Regions from separate parts of the Homo sapiens genome. Here regions 2 and 3 are each linked to region 1. Evidence: promoter capture Hi-C in 16 types of primary human blood cells and fetal thymus (Javierre and others, 2016). All regions are on one chromosome and are shown on one strand. Each heading gives the region's core, a stretch centred on a gene start or on the middle of the fragment in contact. The rest is flanking DNA. Distances are from core to core; before and after follow the strand shown. Region 1 holds the start of KXD1 (KxDL motif containing 1). Region 2 overlaps CERS1 (ceramide synthase 1). Region 3 holds the start of COPE (coat protein complex I subunit epsilon).

What was found. Contacts are between HindIII fragments. The CHiCAGO score rates a contact against its expected background, and 5 or more counts as called.
Region 2: a fragment that was not itself captured here is called in contact with the fragment with the promoter of KXD1 in region 1 in 1 of 17 cell types (M0 macrophages); the score reaches 5.4 in M0 macrophages.
Region 3: the fragment with the promoter of COPE here is called in contact with the fragment with the promoter of KXD1 in region 1 in 1 of 17 cell types (neutrophils); the score reaches 6.7 in neutrophils.

What each region holds. Positions count from the first base shown.
Region 1 is chr19:18,556,420-18,559,119 of GRCh38, forward strand. KXD1 (KxDL motif containing 1) reads left to right here and starts at 1,451. Exons shown (of 5, transcript NM_024069.4): 1 at 1,451-1,495. RefSeq lists enhancers at 478-1,269, 1,270-2,059 and a silencer at 1,550-1,709. The HindIII fragment of the contact is 7,069 bases long and covers 1-2,700 here.
Region 2 is chr19:18,868,298-18,870,997 of GRCh38, forward strand. It overlaps CERS1 (ceramide synthase 1), which reads right to left. Exons shown (of 8, transcript NM_021267.5): 7 at 1,686-2,322; 8 at 248-1,093. The coding sequence ends at 2,280. GDF1 (growth differentiation factor 1) reads right to left here. Exons shown (of 8, transcript NM_001492.6): 7 at 1,686-2,322; 8 at 248-1,093. The coding sequence starts at 2,010. The coding sequence ends at 300. Among named protein-coding and RNA genes, the nearest start is that of CERS1, 27 kb to the right of the region's middle. The HindIII fragment of the contact is 5,071 bases long and covers 1-2,700 here.
Region 3 is chr19:18,917,953-18,920,795 of GRCh38, forward strand. COPE (coat protein complex I subunit epsilon) reads right to left here and starts at 1,435. Exons shown (of 10, transcript NM_007263.4): 1 at 1,271-1,435. The coding sequence starts at 1,396. DDX49 (DEAD-box helicase 49) reads left to right here and starts at 1,763. Exons shown (of 13, transcript NM_019070.5): 1 at 1,763-1,904; 2 at 2,628-2,751. The coding sequence starts at 1,790. RefSeq lists enhancers at 1-535, 1,438-2,037 and a silencer at 1,168-1,357. The HindIII fragment of the contact is 20,861 bases long and covers 1-2,843 here.

The DNA.
Region 1 (2,700 bases), core at 201-2,700:
TTGGCCAGTCTGGTCTCAAACTCCCGACCTCAGGTGATCCACACGCCTGGCATCCCAAAGTGCTGGGGTTACAGGCGTGAGCCACTGCGCCGGGCCTGTTTGTTTTTTGAGACTGGGTCTCACTCTGTTGCCCAGGCTGGAGTGGGGTCTTCGTTCACTGCAACTTCTGCCTCCTGGCCTCAAACGATACTCCTACCTCAGCCTCTTGAGAAACTGGGACCACAGGCTCGGGCCACAGGCCCGTTTTTTTTTTTTTTTCCAATTGTAGCTGTGAGGCATTTTATTACAAAAACTTGGTACTCGTATACACAAACTAACATGAACTTAAAATACATTTTCTTCATTTTTTAGCTTGACCTTCTTTTTTTTTTTTGAGACGTGGTCTTGCTCTATCGCCCAAGCTGGAGTGCAGTGGTGCGATCTTGGCTTACTGCAGCCTCTGCCTCCTGGGTTCAAGCGATTCTCCTGCCTCAGCCTCCTGAGTAGCTGGGATTACAGGCTCCCGCCACCACTCCCGACTAATTTTTTTTATTTTTAGTAGAGACAAGGTTTCACCATGTTGGTCAGGCTGGTCTCGAACTCCTGATCTCGTGATCCGCCCGCCTCGGCCTCCCAAAGTGCTCGGATTACAATGACAGGATGTGAGCCACCGCGCCCAGCCTGTAAACCCTTTTGAAAAAATTCCCCAGCGCATTACTCCAAAACAACGTGGAAGTGTAAATGGAAACCAGGGCTGGGCGCGGTGGCTCATGCCTGTAATCCCAGCACTTTGGGAGGCCGAGGCGGGCAGATCACCTGAGGTCGGGAGATCGGGACCCGCCTGACCAACATGGAGAAACCCTGTCTCTACTAAAAACACAAAACTTGCCGGGCATGGTGGCACATGCCTGTAATTCCAGCTACTCCGGAAGGCTGAGGCAGATGAATCGCTTGAACCTGGGAAGCGGAGGTTGCGGTGAGCCGAGATCACGCCATTGTACTCCAGCCTGGGCAACAAGAGCGAAACTCTGTCTCAAAAAAAAAAAAAAAAAAAAAAAAAGGAAACTTGGACCAAAAAAATCAGCAAAAGTGGAGCAGGGATGTCTGAACACAGATGAGTCTAATTCCCTGCTTGGAAAGCAGGACACCTGAGTGTGGTTTGGCCTCTGACCACTGTAGCATTTACGACCTTGGGGAGGGTTACCACTCTGGGACCTCAGTCACACTATCTACAAAATGGGACACTTCTCTCAGCCTTCCTTCTTCCGGGCCGCTTTCAAGCCTGGGCTTCTGGAAATACGCAGGCGCGAGATGAATTGTTTGATTGGCTATTCATTGTGATGCACCCACGAGCTGAAGCTCCGTCTAAGCCCCGCCCTTTCCTGTCGTGACTTAACGCACGCAAGCGGCTCCAGGGTACGTCCCCGCCACGCGCGCTCGCAGGATCGGTGCGTGGTGACGTTTCGCCGGCGCGGGCGCCATCCCGGAAGCGCGAGCAAGGCCGCCAGATGTGCAGGTGCCGCCGCTACCGACGCCGGGGCCGAGTTTGGGGTGGGGCTGGGGACTCCAGGGCCGCGGGGAACCGGTCCGGGTCGGGCGCGGCCCCCGGGCTGCGGTGGGGTGGGGTGCGCCACTGGCCACATCTGGTCATTCCTGCTGCGCACAGGCCTCAGTTTCCCCGTCTGCTCAATGGATACGCAGGCGGCGCTACGGGCTGGATCTGGATCCGGATCAGGGGCATAGGAATTGGGGCCTCCTGTGTTCTGGGTGTGTCGTGTAACCTGGAGCTGGGCGTTGCCCGGTTTGTGCCTCAGTTTCCCTGTATTGTAGGGGACGGGGCGTGAGGGGATATTTGAGCCCCTCCCCACTTGGGGTTTTTCAGAGCTTGGATGGCTGAGTTAAATTCTGTTAAATAACCTGGATATAGAACCGTGGTGCTTCTCTGCCTCTCCCTGTGAGTTTCGGCAACGGAGCCCGCCCCTGTGAGCCTCAGTTTCACTCGGAGATGATTGTGTCTGCCTCGTAACGGTGATTGAGGATGAAATGAAGTGCTCTACAAGTGTTTGCCCGTAATATATTCTTAGAGGCCCCTGGGATGCTCTCAAAATGTTGATTCCCGGGACTTCTTCACACTCCTCTTGGAGAAACAGCCTGTCCTGAGCTCCAGTCGTTATCACCTTTGGTTTCAGTTGCCACAGACAGCACTGTGAGATCTTCATTCTACCTTATTTTCATTTTATGGTTGAAAAAACTGATTCAGAAGGGTGAAGTGGCTCTCCCATGGTCAAACAGCCTACCTCTCTGCGTTTCTTCAATAAATCTACATTTGGAGTTGGGATCAGAGCTCTTGCTGGGTCAATTTCACTGTGTATGTGGGCCAGACTAGCAGTAATCAGGGAAGGCTTCTTGGGAGAGGAAGTTGCGGGGGGACGGGAGGGAGGTGCCAGGAACCCCTCAGCCCTCACATCTGGGAGCCAGAGACAGAAAAGAGTCCTGTTTTGAAGGAGGAGTGTATCCCAGAAGGTCCCAGTACTGTGTCTCACTGGTACTAGCTATGGGCCTCCCTCTCCAGGTGTCTTTTTTTTTTTTTTTTTTTTTTTTTCAGTTGAGATGAAGTCTCCCTCTGTAGCCCACACTAGAATGCAGTGGCTTGATTTTGGCTCATTGCAACCTCTGCCTCCCGGGTTCAAGCGATTCTCCTGCCTCAGCCTCCTGAGTAGC
Region 2 (2,700 bases), core at 151-2,650, 310 kb after region 1:
GGGGTGTGAAGGAGGCCAGAGGGAGACAGGCAAAGCCCAGAAGGGACAGGTCTGCCTTGCAGGACTGAAGGGCGACCCCTGCCCCTGGGCCCTTCCCGTAGGCAGCACCTGGGCCTGTCCGGGCGGCTCCCCGGAGTGGCGCGTTAGGCCTCTGGCAGGTGGCCTGGAGGTGGAAAGGCCTATCCGATCACCAAGACTGAGGGGCGCCCTCCCCACCACCCAGGCAAGGAGTCCAAGGAGACCAGCGGAGCAGACCACGCGGCATTTATTGTTGGGCCCGCGTCCCTGCCCGCCCCGGGTTAGCGGCAGCCGCACTCGTCCACCACCATGTCCTCATACTGCCGCAGCACCACGTTGTCGCTGTTGTCAAAGAAGAGCACGGAGATGGGCGACAGGCGCGCGGGCACGCAGCAGGGCAGGTCGGCGGCTCCCGGGGCGGCCGCGTGCATGAGCGCGCGCAGCACAGCGTGGTTGAGCGCCGGCGGCCCCCCGGACCCCGACAGCGCGACGGGCAGCGCGCACTGACCCTGGCAGTAGTTGGCCAGGAAGCCGCGCGGCGCGATGACCCAGCGGTGCCAGCCCACCTCGCGGAAGCTCACGTACAGCCGCCGCGCGCGACAAGCGCCCCCGGGGCCGCCGCCCAACACGGGTTCGGCGTCGCGCCGCGGCCGGGCCAGGGGGTGGCACAGGCGCGGGTCGAGGGTCACCAGCAGCAGCGAGGCCTCGGCCAGGCGCGCGCAGGCGGCAGGGGCCCGGGGGCGTAGCGCCAGCGCCAGGCGGAGGCTGCGCGGCCATGAGGCGTTGCGAGCCCAAGCGGCGCCCAGCAGCTCCGCGCGCACTGGCGGCCCCAGGGCGGGCACCAACTGGCGGAGCAGCACCGGCCCGGGGTCCGCGCCCGCGCCCTGGCCCGCTTGCGCCACGCTCAGCTCCCAGCCGCCCTCCGGGGCTGCCGCCGCCGCCGCCGCGAAACGCAGCTCCAGGCGGGCCCGGCTCGGGCGCTCAGCGGGTTCCACAGCCGACAGGTCGAAGACGACTGTCCACTCAGGGCAATGCCCCGCGGCCGAGGCAGGCTCCGAGGCCCGGGTGGGCGCACCTGGGGAGGTAGGAACAGGAACTCGGCTCGCGCTGCGTCCCCGGCCTGCCCATGGGGTCTCGGTTAGGGACAGGGAGGAAGGTGAACGCTGGGGCTCGGGGCGCACCGTCTGTGGGAAGGGTGTGAAGCGGCGGGGTGGGCTGATGGAGTGGGGGCAGGGCATGAGTTCCAAGGAAGGCGCCCTGCGGGGTGCGGCGGGGGGGGTGGGCTGCCCTCGGCGGGGGGCATAGGAGGAGGGGTGGCCGAAGTGGGAGACATGAGCCAGAACCTGGGCCCCTGGGGAAGCCATGCTAGGGTGTGGGGATGGCATCTGCAGGAAGGCATTAGTGTCAAGAGGTGGGGGTGGGCATGGGGTGGGGACAGGGCTTCAGCATCAAGCAGAAGGACTGGTCTTGGGAACCCCCTGACATGTGTCCCCGGCGTGCAGCAGATGACGAGGAAAGGGTGAGGTGCGGTGGCCGAAGTTGCTAGTAGCCTGGACAGGGCGGGTGGGGACCCTCGGAGCTGCTCGGGCATCCCCGGGCCACTCTCGAGGCTCGCCCTGCGAGGTCTGGCCTCCAGGACCAGTGTCCCCAGCGAAAGCCCCACTCACCGCGGTCCGGGATGTGGCGCACGATGTTTCCGGCGACCCCCAGCTCCTCCACGTGGCACGGTTGCAGGGTGACCCCTGGGGACGTCCGCCGCGAGCCAGACCTGGTCTCCTGGGGGTCCCGGCGTCGAAACAGGCGCCACATGACCGGGGGAACCGGCCGGAGCCTGGGGGCACCCTGGGGCTCATCGCGCAGTCCTAGAGCCTGGAGCAGGGCGGCGGCTGGGCCTGGGGGCACGGGGGCGCGGGTCAGGGGCAGCGAGGGCAGCAGCAGGGCCAGGAGGAGGAGGAGGTGGTGGCCGCAGGGACCTTGCTGCGGCGGTGGCATCTTCCTCCCAGGCGATGACCAGAGAGTGCGCAGGGTCCGCGGCGGCCCGGGACCAGTGGGCTGAGGGCGGGGCCGGTGTCCCCGGAGGGGCAGGGGTCCTGGGGGGCGTGGCCGGGAACTGGAGGCAGGATGAGGGGGCGGGGTCCCAGGGGAGGTGGCGGCGGCCCTAGAGGAGCAGAGTTGGAGGGGGTGGAGGGGCGGCCAAGGACGGGGAGCGTGGCCGGGGTATTCGGGGTGGGGCCGGGTCCACGGGGGCGGGGCCGAGGGGTTCAGAAGCGCTTGTCCTTCACCAGGCCGTTCCTCAGTGGCTTCCTGGGGGTCAGAACCGGCGCAGGTTAGCCTGGGAGCCCCACGCGGCCGCCTGGCCCTCTTTCCCGCTTCTTCTCTGGCCGTTTCACACCCCCTGGCTCCTTTTACCCGGCCAGGCCCGGGCCTCGCCTTGTGGCTTCCTCCTCGCCTTCACCCTGCCCCTCCTTGCCTTCACCCTGCCCCTCCTTCAACCTGCCCCGTAGGCACGTATGTCCCCCCTGGCACCCTGGCACTTCCTCCTTGCTTCCCCCTCTCCAATTAAACCTTCCTCTTCCCCTCCTCCCTGCCTCTCCAGGCCGCTGGAGGGCAAAACCCACGTACCGGCCTGGGCCTGACAACTCCACCGCCTCCACAGTGGGACCCTGCACATCCTCCTCTCCT
Region 3 (2,843 bases), core at 185-2,684, 360 kb after region 1:
GGCCAAGGCGGGCAGATCACAAGGTCAAGAGATGGAGACCATCCTGGCCAACATGGTGAAACCCCGTCTCTACTAAAAATACAAAAATTAGCCGGGCCATGGTGGCGCGCGCCTGTAATCCCAGCTACTCGAGAGGCTGAGAAAGGAGAATTGCTTGAACCTGGGGGCGGAGGTTGCAGTGAGCCGAGATCACGCCACTGCACTCCAGCCTGGCAACAGCGCGAGTCTCCATCTCAAAAAAAAAAAAAAAAGAAAAGAAAAGAAAAGAAAAAAGAAAGATGTATGGGAACAGACACACAACTCTCCCTCCCAGATAAGCACAACGAAGAGACACAGAAGCAGTTCAAGCCTCTGATAAACTCTCCGACCCTGAATCCTTAAAAACTCTTAGTCTGTAAAAGAGTGTTACTCTGACCCAACTCCGCCAGAAGGCGCCTCTCAGGTTTGTTTTCTCTAAAATAAACCTGTCTTGACTGGCAAGCCACCTTTCGTGTTTCTTTCCTCTTTAATTCTTACAACTTTGTCACCCAGGCTGGAGTGCAGTGGCGCGATCTCGGTTCACTGCAACCTCGGCCTCCGGGTTGAAGCGATTCTCCTGTCTCAGCCTCCCGGTAGCTGAGATTACAAGTGCCCGCCACCACGCCCGGCTAATTTTTGGTAGACTCATGGTTTCTCCACGTTGCCCAAGCTGGTCTCGAACTCCTGGGCGCATGCGATCTGCCCGCCTCGGCCTCCCAAAGCGCCAGAATTACAGGCGTTTGAGCCACTGCGCTGGGAAACTGTGTTTATCATTCTGAGTCCAGCGGAATACAGTGCCCGTCCAAAAAAGTGCTCAATGAAGAATGAATGAATGAATGGGTAAGCTCTGGGAGAAATAACCAGGCTGGTTGGGCAGGGAAACGTCCTTCTCTGAACTTTAGGGTTCTCATCCGTAAAATGAGGATAAGCAACAGTCTCCATCTCACGGGAACTGAAGGTATGGCTGAACAAAATAGGCTTATTGTCACTACAGTGGCATAAACACCTCCCTTACTCAAAACACTTTCAAGGGCGCAGAGAGAACGCTGTACGAGTGAGCAGTACCGTAAACTGTTACTGCTCTGGGTTCTGTCACGGGACAGTGACTACTCCTCACTGAACTGTGGAAGAGGTGGCCCAAAAAACGCGAGAAGAAAAGAGAAAGTTTTTAGACGCAGAACGCGGCTCGCGGCCACCAGAAAGCGTCCTCCGCCTCCGCCCCCAGCGTCCCCGCGCCCCTGCGCGGCCGCACCTTCACCCGCTGCGCCTCGTTTATGCACTGCTGGTAGCTGCCGATGTAGAAGGCGTTCTTTACGTCGAACAGCTCGTCTACCTCCCCGGAGCCGCCGGAGGCCGGGCCGGGGGCCGGAGGCGCCATTTCGCTGTCTTCTCACCAGCTCCTCTTCCTGAAAGACACGTCAGCCGGAAGCAAGACACGGGCACGCTAGGAAATGTAGTTTACTTTTTCCGAGCGGCGGCGAAGTAAGCCAATGGGAAGCTCCACAATAATATGCAAGGGGGCGGAAGGCGTAAGTGCGTCACGGAGAGCATCTCGGGAATTGTAGTGTGTTTCTGCAAGCCAATGGGATCCGGGGAAACATGATAAGGATGCGGTCGAGGCTGGGAATAGGCTGAGGGAGCTGGAGAGGGTGGGACCACGCAGGAGGCAGATCCAATAAACAGGAAGATTTTTCTCGTGACGTCGTCGGCGCGCGCCGGAAGCGCGGATCACACGGGCCCCTACAAGGGGCCCCTACAAGCGGCCACAAGGATGGCAGGCTTCGCGGAGCTCGGGCTGTCATCGTGGCTCGTGGAACAATGTCGGCAGCTGGGTTTGAAGCAGCCCACGCCCGTGCAGCTCGGCTGCATCCCCGCCATCCTGGAGGGTGAGTATGGCCCAGGGCCTTCCCCAAGAGGCCTCTCCGCTCCTCTCGACTCCTTTCCCTTCTCGCAACCTTTGCTTATTCCGGTCCCACGAGGCGAGGGGCAACCTCGGGCGTTACAGGAGATCCGGGGTTCCGGAGGACGACTGGACAGTGTTGGCATTTAGGTTGCATGACTGACTCGCTTTGTGTTCGTACGCAAGTGATGTAATCTCTGAAATTTTCATAGTCTCAGCACAGGGAGGGTTTGATGGATGACTAGTCCGATAGTATCGCAAAATCCTGCAGACCTGGTACTGCTATCTTTATTTTACAAATAGAAGTTGAGGCTGTCAAAATTGCTGGTAGATCCAGGACTCCTTGGTCCTGTGATTGCTCCTCTAGGAGAAGGTCTTCTCTCTGCTCCTCTAGCCCAACCCAGTTTCGCCATTAAAGAGAGGCCCACAGGAAGCCTAAGATGTGATAAGTCAGGGATTAAATAAACAAATGAAGGGGTCAACAGGGAGCACAAGATGCATATGAGGGAAGGGAATTCTGGATTCCCCAAATTCACGTGCTCCTGGACGGAGTTAGAACGAGGTGGTAGGAAGCTGTGGGCATCTCGGGTCAAATGGATATGGGTTCCAGTCCAGCCTGCCACTCACTGGCAGTGTGTCCTGGGCAAGGTCTCTGAAACCCAGCTGTCCACACATGGAGGGTGTTGATGCTGCTTTGTCCCCAACCCAGGTCGAGACTGCTTGGGCTGTGCTAAGACAGGCAGTGGGAAGACAGCAGCGTTTGTCCTTCCCATCTTGCAGAAGCTGTCTGAGGATCCCTATGGCATCTTCTGCCTCGTCCTGACACCCACCAGGTAAGCCCCCAGCAGGCCTCCTGGGTATGGGTTAACCAGCTGTGCTCTCTTGGGCAAGCACCTTTCCCTCTCTGAGCGCCCTTTTCCCACGT